Linked DNA regions of Homo sapiens: region 1 is linked to region 2. Evidence: promoter capture Hi-C in human tissues and cell types (Jung and others, 2019). All regions are on one chromosome and are shown on one strand. Each heading gives the region's core, a stretch centred on a gene start or on the middle of the fragment in contact. The rest is flanking DNA. Distances are from core to core; before and after follow the strand shown.

Region 1 (6,198 bases), core at 638-3,137, 1.5 Mb before region 2:
CATCAGTGTCACCGAAGTCTGTATTGCCCAGATTGGTCTCAAACTCCTGGGCTCAAGCAGTCTGCCCACCTCGGCCTCCCAAAGTGCTGGGATTACAGGCCTGAGCCACTGCACCTGGTCTGGACTCAATTTTAGTTTTTGAGTTTTGCTTTTTTTTTTTAAAGCAGTACTAACTACTTGTAAAGATGTATATTTCATGACTTTTATTTATTGGAGGTCTTCAAAACAGCAAAGAGAAAATTTATTTTTATTTTTAATTTTATTTTTGAGATGCGGTCTTGTTCCATCCCCAGGCTGGAGTGCAGTAGCGCGATCTTGGCTCACTGCAACCTCCGCCTCCTGGGTTCAACTGGTTCTCCTGCCTCAACCTCCCGAGTAGCTGGGATTACAGGTGTGTACCACCATACCCAGCTAATTTTTGTATTTTTAGTAGAAATGGGGTTTCACCATATTGGCCAGGCTGGCCTCAAACTTCTTATCTCTCGAAGTGCTGCGATTACAGGCATGAGTCACCATGCCCAGCCTGAAAATTTATTTTTTTTCCAAAGGAATAAACTCATTTTAGCTATTACCACTTGTACATCGAAACAATGTTGTGGAGTTTTACTGATCTTATTTTTCCTGTATATTGAAATGTTTTGGTATTTCATCATCCTAGGAATTATTTCATCATTACTCATCAATTCTCAAATATGCTAAAGAGGACTAAAATAATATGACAAAGGGAGAATTATAGAATTGCTTAAAAGGATATGCAGTAGTGAAATAAATCATTAGTTTTACACTTCAGTTTTTAGAGATGGGGCCTCGCTTTGTTGCCCAGGCCGAAGGGCAGTGGTATGATCATAGCTCTCTGCAGCCTCAAACTTCTGGGCTCAAGTGATCATCCCTCCTAAGCATCCTCGGTAGCTGGGACTATAGGTGTGCACCGCAGCCCTTCAGTTTTCTTATTGCTTTTCCCAAAACTTACAGCAACTTTTTTTTTCTTTTTGGATACAGGGTCTCACTCTGTCACCCAGGCTGGAGTGCAGTGGCGCAATCTCAGTTCACTGCAACCTTCGCCTCCCAGACTCAAGCAATCTCACCTCAGCCCTCCAAGTAGCTGGGACTACAGGCATGTGCCACCACACCTGGCTAATTTTTGTATTTTTTTTGTAGAGAGAACGTTTCGCCATGTTGTCTAGGCTAGTCTCGAACTCCTGGGCTCAAACAATCCACCCACCTTAGCCTCCCAAAGTGCTGGGATTCCAGGCATGAGCCAGCATGCCCAGCCTACAGCATCTTTCAAGAAAGTATAAAAGAAGTTGGGAGATACCATCTTAAACATTATGTAAGATGTTAACATTTGGAGAATCTAGGTGAAGGAGTACATGGTAATTTTTATACTATTTTTCAACTTTTAAGCTTTCATTGGACATATTTAAAAATCCATAGTTTTTCATCTTCCTCCTATAATGGCAAAGAGAAGAAAACTGACTACAGAAGACATTTCAGAGGAACTAGTAGATGAATGCTGTGTGACAGTAGTACTCTAGACTGTTAGGATGACGGTAAAGTTATATAAACCAAGTTGTAAAATAAGAGTCTTCAGCCAGGCATGGTGGCGTGCACCTGTAATCCTAGCATCTCGGGAGGCTGAGATGGGAGGATCACTTGAGCCCAGTACTTCAAAACCAGGCTGGGCAACATAGCAAGATTCTGTCTCCACCCATATACATATGTGACTGTACCCTAGATGAGTTTAGAATGTGATTTTTTTTTTTTTTTTTTTTTTGAGACAGAGTTTTGCTCTTATTGCCCAGGCTAGAGTGCCATGGCACAATCTCGGCTCACCGCAACCTCCGCCTCCTGGGTTCAAGGGATTCTCCTGCCTTAGCCTCCCAAGTAGCTGGGATTACAGGCATGTACCACCATGCCTGGCTAATTTTTTGTATTTTTAGTAAAAGATGGGGTTTCTCCATGTTGGTCAGGCTGGTCTTGAACTCCCAACCTCAGGTGATCCACCTGCCTTGGCCTCCCAAAGTGCTGGGATTACAGTCGTGAGCCACCATGCCCAGCGGTGAATTTTTTTTTTTTTTTTTTTTTTTTTAAAGATGGGATCTATCTCACTATGTTGCCCAGGCTGGATTTAAATTCCTGAGCTCAAGCTGTTCTCCTGCTTCAGTTCCCCCAAGTAACTGGCACTATAGGCATCCAGCTAGAATGTGATTTTCTTTTTATAAGAATCAGAACTGGGCTGGGTGCAGTGGCATATGCCTGCAATCCCACCTTCTTGGGAGGCTGAGGTGGGAGGATCGCTTGAGCCCAGACGTTCGAGACCAGCCTGGGCAACATAGTGAGACCCCATTTCTATTTTTAAGAAATGAAAAAAAAAAACAATCAAAACCACTGCACTTTGCCAAAAAGATGTATGATAGTATTCTTTCATCTTTCAAGATATTTGTACACCAAAACTTAGTTGATGCAGTTTGTAAGTGGACAGGTGCCAAAGTTACGTATATGTATAAAGATGGTTAGAAGGAAAAATTATGTAAAAATGAAAAAAAAAATCAGTTTTTTTTTTTTTTTTTTTTTTTTTTTTTTTTTGAGACAGAGTCTCACTCTTGTTACCCAGGCTGGAGTGCAGTGGCATGGTCTTTGCTCACTGCAACCTCTGCCTCCTGGGTTCAAGCGATTCTCCTGCCTCAGCCTCCCGAGTAGCTGGGACTACGGGTGCGTGCCACTGCACCCAGCTAATTTTTTGTAGTTTTGGTACAGATGGGGTTTCACCGTTTTAGCCAGGATGGTCTCAATCTCCTGACCTCGTGATCCACCCGCCTCGGCCTCTGAGAGTGCTGGGATTAGAGGCAAGAGCCACACGCTCAGCCTGGATTGTTCATTCTGATTGACATTTATTAGTCTAAAAATGAGAATGCTTATGATTATGGAGCAAAGAAGATGACTGTTCTCTCCAACAAAATTATGAAGTGAGTTTTCAAAGTATTTCATTTGATGGGCAGAAAGGGAAAAAAAGACCCAGAGGTGATAAGCTAGAACCTTACTAGAGCTGTACCTGAAACCTGGAATCAAAATTTACAAAATGGAAGCCAAGCGTGGTGGTGTGTACCTGTTTACAGAGTGGAAGCCAAGTGTAGTGGTATACACCAGCTACTCGGGAGGCTGAGGCAGGAGGATCGCTTGTGGCCAGGAGTTCAAGACCGGCCTGTGCAATGTAGGGAGACCCTGTCTCTAAAAAAAATTTTTTTCTTATTAGCCACTCTGTAGTCCCAGCTACTTAGGAAGCTGAGGTGGGAGGATTGTTTGAGCCCAGCAGTCTGTAATGAGCTATGATCATGCCACTGTACTCTAGCCTGGGCAATAGAGCAAGACCCTGTTTTTTTTTTATTTTGTTTTTTGTTTTTTTGAGACGGAGTCTGGCTCTGTTGCCCACGCTGGAGTGTAGTGGCGAGATCTCGGTCAACCTCCACCTCCCAAGTTCAAGCAATTCTACTGACTCAGCTTCCTGAGTAGCTGGGATTATAGGCACACGCCACCATGCCCGGCTAATTTTTTTGTATTTTTAGTAGAGATGGGGTTTCACCATGTTGGCTAGGCTGGTCTTGAGCTCCTCACCTCACGTGATCTACCCGACTTGGCCTCCCAAAGTACTGAGATTACAGGCGTGAGCCACTGCACCTGGCCAACCCTGTTTCTTTTTCTTGTTCTTTTTTTTTTTTTTTTTTTTGAGACAGAGTCTTCGCTCTGTCACCCAGGCTGGAGTGCAGTGGCGCGATCTCAGCTCACTGCAAGCTCTGCCTTCCAGGTTCACGCCATTCTCCTGCCTCAGCCTCCCGAGCAGCTGGGACTACAGGCGCCTGCCACCACGCCTGGCTAATTTTTTGTATTTTTGGTAAAGACGGGGCTTCACCTTGTTAGCCAGGATGGTCTCGATCTCCTGACCTCGTAATCCGCCTGCCTTGGCCTTCCAAAGTGCTGGGATTACAGGCATGAGCCACCGCGCCCGACCCCTTGTTTCTTAAAAGAAACAAAAAATTTATAGAATGGCTGTGTTCCAAGTTCATGCATGACATTTGATGAGTACTTGGTTGCATTTTAAAGGATGTTGCACATTTTGGATATTTATATCTCCCAGTGTCCAGGAAAGTACGGAATAAAAATTTAGATTTGCTACTTAAGGCTGGGCATGGTGGCTCACACCTGTAATCCCAGCACTTTGGGTGGCTGAAGCGGGCAGATCACTTGAGGTCAGGAGTTTGAGAACAGCCTGGCCAACATGGCAAAACCCCTTTTCTACTAAAAATACAAAAATTAGCCAGGTGTAGTGGCACACACCTGTAATTCCAGCTGCTTTGGGAGGCTGAGGCACAGGAATTGCTTGAACCTGGGAGGCAGAGGTTGCAGTGAGTTGAGATTGCACCACTGCACTCCAGCCTGGGTGACAAAGTAAGACTGTGTCTCAAAAAAAAAAACAAATTTGCTACTTACATTCTTGTTAAAATAGTAAGTAATAACGATATGGGGTTTTTTTAAAGTTATTTATTTATTTATTTATTTTTGAGAGGGAGTCTCGCTCTGTTGCCCAGGCTGGAGTGCATTGGCGTGATCTTGGCTCACTGCAACCTCCGCCTCCCAGGTTCAAGCAATTCTCCTGCCTCAGCCTCCAAAGTTGCTGGGATTACAGGCGCCCGCTACCACGCCCAGCTAATTTTTGTGTTTTTAGTAGAGACGGGGTTTCACCATGTTGACCAGGCTGGTCTTGAACTCCTGACCTCAGGTGATCCGCCCGCCTCAGCCTCCCAAAGTGCTGAGATTACAGGCGTGAGCCACCACACTTGGCGTTATTTTTAATTTTTACAGATTTAATGAGCATTATGGTATCAGAAAAGCTCTAAAATTTTGAGTCAGAAGAGTTTTACAGATCAAGCCTAAGAGAGGGACGAAAGGAGACCAGGCGTAAAAAAAGATAAGAGTTCTAAAAAACTTTAGGTCAGAGTGTCTGGCCAATGCGTAATGGTATAATGCGGGTTAAAGGTGTATCATATGCCGTAAAAGAAGCATTGATGGCCGGGTGCGGTGGCTCACGCCTGTAATCCCAGCACTTTGGGAGGCTGAGGTGGGCGGATCACGAGGTCAGGAGATCGAGACCATCCTGGCTAACACAGTGAAACCCCATCTCTACTAAAAAATACAAAAAAAAAATTAGCCAGGCGTGGTGGCAGGCGCCTGTAGTCCCAGTTACTTGGGAGGCTGAGGCCGAAGAATGGCATGAACCTGGGAGGCGGAGCTTGCAGTGAGCCAAGATCACGCCACTGCGCTCCAGCCTGGGTGACAGAGCAAGACTCTGTCTCAAAAAAAAAAAAAAGATATGTGACAGTTGGGGTTATGATTAAACTTAGGTTTCTCAGTCTTCACACACTGTTGACATTTTGGGCCAAATAATTTGTTGTGAGGAGACTGTCGTGTGCATTGTAGGATGTTTGACAACATCCTTTTACTCTATCTGTGAGATATCAGTAGCATTCCATCTTCCCGAGTTGTGACAACCAAAAATGTCTTCCATCATTACTACATGTGCCCTTGGGAGGCAGAATCTCCCCTAGTTGAGGACCACTGCATTAGAAGAATATAAAAACTGAGTTCAAAGGAGGCTTGGATATTAGATCTAATGGTGTCTTTTGAGAAGAGCTGGTTGTTAATTTTTCCAAGCAATAATTCTAATCAATATATGAAATCTAAATAGAGTGCCTTTCATTCTGTAATAGATTCTTTCTTAGCAGATTTAAAACCAGAGGTGGACTTTTGGACAAATTTTGAATTAGACTACTCAAAATTGCACTGGGTTGAAGTTTACATTGACTTAATACTGCGATGGAAGTTTGCTTTTGAAGAGAAACTTTCCATTGTTTCAAGAATATGCATTTAAAAATAAGCAAAAAAGAGTATGCATTTATTTATTTTATTTTTTGTTCTAAGAGTATGCATTTAAACAAACTGACCAGGATAGACTTTTGTTTTTTTGAGACAGGGTCTTATTCCATCACCCATGCTGGAGTGCAGTGGCATAATCACAGCTCACTGTAGCCTCAACCTCCCAGGCTCAAATGATCCTCCCACCTCAGCCTCCTAAGCAGCAAGGACTACAGGTGCTCACTACCATGCCCAGCTAATTTTTAATAAAATTTTTTTGTAGAGACGGTG
Region 2 (6,541 bases), core at 641-3,140:
GAGAAATGATACCCAAGGAGTGTGCTAGGACAAGATCCTAGCTGAGGAGATTGAACCAGTTCTGTGAGTGATGGGAAGTTGCTGAAGGATTTGGAACCAGGGAACAACACGATCAGCTGTGCATGATGGGACAGTCACTCTGACAACCTAGGAGCAGGTGCCCTGGTCTAGGACAGTGGCTGTGGGATGCAGAGGAGGGACTTGATTCAGAGATCCTGGGAAGCCAGTGACTGGAGGTGAGGGAGCAGGATGATGCCTTGAGTGACAGCTGGAAAGGCTGGTGGATCTGAGGTGGTGGGGGCAGGAGGGAGGGGGAGAGCTGGAGAGCGGGTATGAAGAGGGTGAGGGGAGAGCCAGCTAGGTCTTCGCCAATGGAAAAGCATGTCAGACTCCCAGCTGGTAAGGGGAAAGGGGCACAGTTCCAGGTGACCTCACTGGGTCAGCGCCCCGGCTTCAAACTTAAACCATCGCAACCACTGTGCTGGCTCCTGTGTACCCATTCCGTACTCTGTTCCAACTTAGAAACAGACTAGAAAGGATGATGATAGGGCCTGGCTCTTGTAAACCTTACAGTCTGCAGGGTGGAGAGCAGGGGTTGGGCAGATACGCAACTTCCTAGGGACTGTAAGGCCTCAGGAGCCTGCCCTTCCCTCCAGCCTGGTCAGTACTCCCAGGCCTTTAGAGAATCAGTCCATGAAAGCCAAATATGGTGGGCAGCCATCTGCACAAGGGACCTGGAAGTGGGCTATGGCAGGATGGGGCTTCGGAGGCCAGAGGCGATTGGCTGAGGAGGCAGAGCTGGGGAAGCTTTATTCATTTCTTTGCTTGCTTTGGAAGATAGCCTGCTCCCAGACTACCCCAAAGTCCTGTTGGAAGTTAACACTTCTCAAAGGAAATTCACGAGTTGCATTCAGGTTTTCTCAAGCCCTGGAGAGGCAAGTTAATTCCAGGTACCTGGATCAAGGGGCATGCTCTTTCTGGACCTGCAGGACTGAGGGCCTCACCTCTGTGGTGCTCTGGGGCCCCTGCCCTCATGTAGCTCTGTGCTATCCCCTTCTTCCTTACACTCCCATGCTCCCCGAAGTCTGCATGTGAAACTTCTTTCTTTTTGTGCCAAAGTTCAGGCCTTCCTACTCCACCTTGATCACGGTGACCTGGCCAGGCCATTACTTAACAAATAAGTATTGAGACCTGCCCTATGCCAGTCCCTGCTTGCTGGGCTGTGGGTTCACAAAGAGGAATAATTTGCAGACTATGTCCCAGAGAAACCCAAAGTCCAGATATGGCATGTCCTGCCTCCAGTGTGAGAGAAGGAGTGCTGAGAAGGCTGATATAGCATGTCCTTGATCCTGGAGAAGATTGGCTTCCTGTAAACCCTGATGAGATCTTGCTCTCTCGCTCCGACTGCAGTGCAGTGGCACGATCATAGCTCACTGCAGCCTCAAACTCCTGGACTCAAGAGATCCTCCCGCCTCAGCCTCCCAAGTGGCTGGGACCACAGGCAGGCATCCCACGCCAGGCTAATTTTTAAAAATTTTTTGTAGAGATGGGCTCTCACTATGTTGCTCAGGATGGTCCTGAATTCCTGGCCTCAAGCGATCCTCCTGCCTGAGTCTCCCAAATTGATGGATTATAGGAGTGAGCCACCGTGCCCAGCTTCCCCTCCAGCTTTTCTAGGGCTGAGTAGGAGAAGAGGGGAGGAGGCGATGACCCCAGCGGGGTCCGAGGAACGCCGATCACACCCAGTAGCCCTGGGCTGCAGTTCGGTCCTCCCAGCGCAGGGGGAGCCATGCGACGGCGGAAGCGGGCCCCGGCCGGCCTCCTCTTCCTGCGCCCGCGCCGCCGCGGGTGGCCGCGCGGGTGAAGCCGGAAGCAGCAGCCAGGAGGGCGGGGCCGCGTAGGGCCCACTGGCCAGGGAGGGCGCCGCGCGGAGGCGCGGGGCGTGTCTCCTGTCAAAAGCCATGCTCGGCAGGTCTGGGTACCGGGCGCTGCCCCTGGGTGATTTTGACCGCTTCCAGCAGTCGAGCTTCGGCTTTCTGGGCTCGCAGAAGGGCTGCTTGTCCCCGGAGCGGGGCGGCGTGGGGACAGGGGCCGGTGAGTGGCCGCCTGGCACGGCGGAGCCGGGGGGGACCGGCCGGCAACCCCCAGGCCCGAATCTCTGCCTCCGAGGAGTCGGCCGGCCCGGTGCCGTCGCACCCTACGAGGGGGGACTGAGAAAGGGATACGATGTGGAGAGGGGGCTGGACCCGGCGCCTGGTGCTAGCGCCGATCCGCCCTCCCTAGGGTCATGGGGCTTTGGCCCCAGAGCCAGCCAGCGTTGCTCCTATCTTCCAAAACCTCACCTCACCACATTTGTCCTCGGCTCTTATCAGCCCTTTAGGCCTGGGAAGACGTTTCAGGTTTCTATTTCGCATAGAAGAAACCGAGGTCTAGGCAGAGGAGGCCACCAGCACCCTAAAGGCACCTGCTGCAGGGAAATGGAAGAATTTTCGCCCTAGGGGGCACCTCTAGAAGCCCGGGAACTAGGCATCTCCTGGATGTGCAGGCCAAAATGACAGGTCCTCAGCTGCCTGTTGGATCTGCCCTGCTTCTGTCTTGCCCTCAAAGTCTTCTGTGGCTCCTTTGGCCTACAGGCCAGATCCCACGCTGTTCAGCCTAACCGCCTAACCTTGGATTTGATCCCTCCCTGGCCTTCCTGTCCTGAAAGCTCTCCCTATCCAGAAGTCTCTTGAGAGGCCTGGTGGATCAGAGCCAGGCACAAAGTGGAGCCTCAGTGCTCTGGGGCTTAGCCCAGAGGGCAGGGCTTCCTGGAAGAATGGAGCAGGGCTCCCGACTGCTTCCTGTCCAGGGTTGGGAGGAAAGCGGCAAATAACCTCATCCCAGATTCTGGAGCTGTCTCGGCTTTGCTCCCAACTTGGGCTCCTGAATCTCCAGGGGCCAGGACATTTGGCTTGGATAAGCCTCATCTTTCTAGCCCTGCCCCTGACCCCGACCCCTAACAATTTTCTTGAATTGAAATAGGCAGGGTTTTTTTTTGTTTTTGTTTTTTGTTGTTTGTTGTTTTTTTGAGATGGAGTCTCGCTCTGTCCCCCAGGCTGGAGTGCAGTGGCGCCATCTCGTGAAATAGGCATTTTTTAATGGTCATTAAGGCATTAAAGTTGGGTGTGGAATAGAAAATAATAATCTAATTCCTCATCTGTGGCTCCCGTTGATAAGCTATTTATGATTTATCCCTGTAGGCTAAGGCATCATCTTCATAAGGACTCCTGGAAAGCACACTTCTGGGGCTGATGGTATAGGAGGAATGTGTTTTGCCAGCAGTATTCAGTGCATGTTTACAGATGCCCAGGTGCTCCTGGCTCCATGCCAGGTATGGGTAGGCAATATAAATTAAACGAGAGGATTGACCCCTACTCAGTCCAGTGAGGAGAGCATCATCACGCGGACTGGATTCTGAGATTGAATGGCTGTTGCCTAGCAGAGAATAAGGCCTTGTGAGGGTTGTTGGACTTGGGACAAATGAGTGTTGATGTATGGGAGGAGGGAACAGACCCTAACTTGCAGCTGCCCAAAGATACGGGAATATTAGGCAAGGAGCCAGATTGAGAGCCCTGAGAAGGAAGGAGCCTCTCGAGGGGAAGGTGGGCGTAAGGTACACTTGCCCAAGTTCACTCCGCTTGGCAGCTGTCGTGCAGGTCCAGTTGACCACCTCTGCTCTCACCTGCAGATGTACCCCAGAGCTGGCCCTCCTGCCTCTGTCATGGCCTCATCAGTTTCCTGGGGTTCTTGCTGCTGTTGGTCACCTTCCCCATTTCTGGCTGGTTTGCCCTGAAGGTAAGGCTGGCTGGGTCAGCCCCCAGGGTGGTTGGGCCACACTGAGAGCTTTGGCATTGATGAATAAATTTGCCTATCCTCTGTCCCCTTTCCCTAAATATTATTACCCCTTTGTGTAATGGGCTAGGCAAGAACCATTCATTCACATTGGTCAGGGGAGGAAACTAAGGCTTGGGCTTGTCTAAAGTCATACTGGGAGCCAGTAGGGGGTAGAAGCAAGTCCCAAACTCCTAAGTCCTGGGATCTGGACACTGGCTTTAAGGTACACGCAGATGTCTTTGCCAAATTATCTTCTCTTTGGGTTAGAATAAATTAGAAATGAAAACACCCAACTTAGCCCAGCTGGTAGTGCATAATAGGAATTCAGGCCTCATTTTCCATAAGGGGTGGTACAGTGGGAAAAGGATGAACCATGGAGCTATAGTTCAGCATCGCACGTGAAAGCTGGGGGAAGGTGGAAGCCCAAGGAGGCCTTGCCCTTTGTGTAGCCCTAGGCAACAGTCCCTCTCTAGAAAACCTCTGGGTTTGGTGTGGTCTGCAAGGGGGTCCTTAAATGGCCTTATATCCTAGTTCTAAAACTGCCACAGAAACAAATGCCATGTGACCTTGAACAGGTTTCTTTGCCTCTCTGGGCCTTCATTTCTCAATTTGGACATCACTACTTCTCTAGGAGGTCCAGGGACCTAAAGTTGACAAAGCCCTTTCCCCGGGGGTGCTGTTAGGGCAGCCGAGCCTTTTCTCCTAACTAATCCAAGGACAGACAGTTTCCTGGTATGAGTCATGTCTAACTTCAGACCACAGAGATGAAAAGTTTCTCTAAGGATCAAGTCAATACAGTGCAGTAGTTAAGACACATGGCCTTTGGAGTTATTCAGAACTGCATTCAAATCTTCACTATTTCACTTAGGGCTATGCAATTTTTGAGCAGTCACTTAGCTTCCCTGAGCCTTGGTTTTCTCATCTGGAAACAGTGCTAGGGATACCTAACTGTGACCCAGGTGAGGAGGAGAGAAGTGAGGAAGGGACCTAGGCAGACAGCATTGGCCAGCCTAGGCTGACCACTTTCAACTCTTTCCCTTGCCATTGTGGACAGATTGTGCCCACCTACGAGCGGATGATTGTGTTCCGCCTGGGCCGGATCCGCACCCCCCAGGGACCTGGCATGGTTCTGCTCTTGCCCTTCATTGACTCCTTTCAGAGGGTGGATCTGAGGACACGAGCCTTCAACGTCCCTCCCTGCAAGGTGAGGGGCTTCTCAGCTGCCTTGACAGAGGAACTGGGGGCCTGTCCAGAATGTACTGTGGTGCCAGGACCTCAGCCTGTGAGTCACCATCTGAGGGGGGAAGGGGGAAGAAGAGACCAGAAAATTGATGGAAGCTAGGAGGACATCCTTGCTTCATACACCTAACCCTACATACTTGGTGACACCATTTGCCCTTGAGGAGCTAGCTGCCAAGCAGGTGGTTCAAGCTGGGTGGCCCCAGTGGGCCTGACCTCCCTGCACCCCCAGCCCCTTGAGTGTCTCTCTCTCATGGCCTCCCCCAACAGCTGGCCTCTAAGGACGGGGCTGTGCTGTCCGTGGGAGCCGATGTCCAGTTTCGCATCTGGGACCCGGTGCTGTCGGTGATGACTGTGAAAGACCTGAACACAGCCACACGCATGACAGCCCAGAACGCCATGACCAAGGCCCTGCTCAAGAGGCCGCTGCGGGAGATCCAGATGGAGAAGCTCAAGATCAGCGACCAGCTTCTGGTAGGCAGCCCCTCACAAGACGGAGCTTGAGGGGTGGCACCGGCCTGGCTCCACCTGCCAGGTCACTTTGAGAAAAGAGTCAGACCACTCTGGGCCTCAGTTTACCATATGTCCCAATAGTGTAACCACCTTTGAAGAGCCAGTGCCTGGGTGGGGCCATGAGTTGAGGAATGGCAGGTGGGCGTAGACCATAACGATCCTGGGCAAACTTGTCCCTGAGAAGAGGAAGTGGCCCCGGCAGACATTCTTGGGGTCTGCCCCTTAGTTTTTACCCCTCACTGCTCTGCCATGATGACACTGGCTTCTACAGCTCTCATTCCGGGCCTGACTCATGGGGCAGGCAGATGGGTGATGGAGCAGGGACCCTCCCAGCCCAGTCACCTGCTGGGGAATTCCAGGCTCACCATGCAGCGTGTGCATGCTTGTGATTTTTGTTTCCTTGTTTGGAACAGAACAAAGGAACATGAGGACATTTGGATCTTTTTCCTGCCTCTTCTCCATGTGTATATTGGAGTTTGCCCTAAATCTCTTCTGCTACAAGATGGGGTAGAAATAAATACACATGCAGAGTTGTGTCCCCTGCAGCCACACTCAACTTGTGCTTCCTCTTGTGTCCTGACAGGGGAATGTAGGTGACATTTCTCCCCATTCCTCTTGGCTCTGCTTTGCCCTGGGGAATCAAGGTTAGAGGACAGTCGGGGGAATGGGATAAATGCCAGTCCTGGAGGTCCCACTGGAAGCAGCGAGGGGAAATTCCTGAGGAAATACTATTTGAGATCCTAACAGTAGCTCTTACGTGCTTAGCAGTTTATGGTTTACAAAGTCCTTTTGTCTGGCCCAGCATTTCTGAGCTTGACATTTTTTGCTGCAAGTCGGTACTACTGTTTTATTTTGGAGGGAGGAAGCTAAGGCTAAGAAATAATTTGACTTGCCTCTGAGAGCTATGGTCAAGGGC

Evidence for each region. The method cuts DNA at HindIII sites, captures the fragments that hold promoters and counts their contacts. A contact is called where the count stands out against the background at its distance.
Region 1: a fragment that was not itself captured here is called in contact with the fragment with the promoter of STOML1 in region 2 in 1 of the 25 tissues and cell types used here (spleen).

The regions. Positions count from the first base shown.
Region 1 is chr15:75,438,509-75,444,706 of GRCh38, reverse strand. All of the region lies in intron 1 of SIN3A (SIN3 transcription regulator family member A), which reads left to right. Among named protein-coding and RNA genes, the nearest start is that of SIN3A, 10 kb to the left of the region's middle. RefSeq lists a silencer at 3,555-3,704. The HindIII fragment of the contact is 9,103 bases long and covers 1-6,198 here.
Region 2 is chr15:73,987,644-73,994,184 of GRCh38, reverse strand. It overlaps STOML1 (stomatin like 1), which reads left to right and starts at 1,890. Exons shown (of 7, transcript NM_004809.5): 1 at 1,890-2,094; 2 at 3,728-3,834; 3 at 4,928-5,077; 4 at 5,383-5,586. The coding sequence starts at 1,962. RefSeq lists a silencer at 1,664-2,223 and enhancers at 2,354-2,423, 2,484-2,613, 5,680-5,739, 5,910-5,969, 5,980-6,169 and 1 more. The HindIII fragment of the contact is 7,353 bases long and covers 1-4,309 here.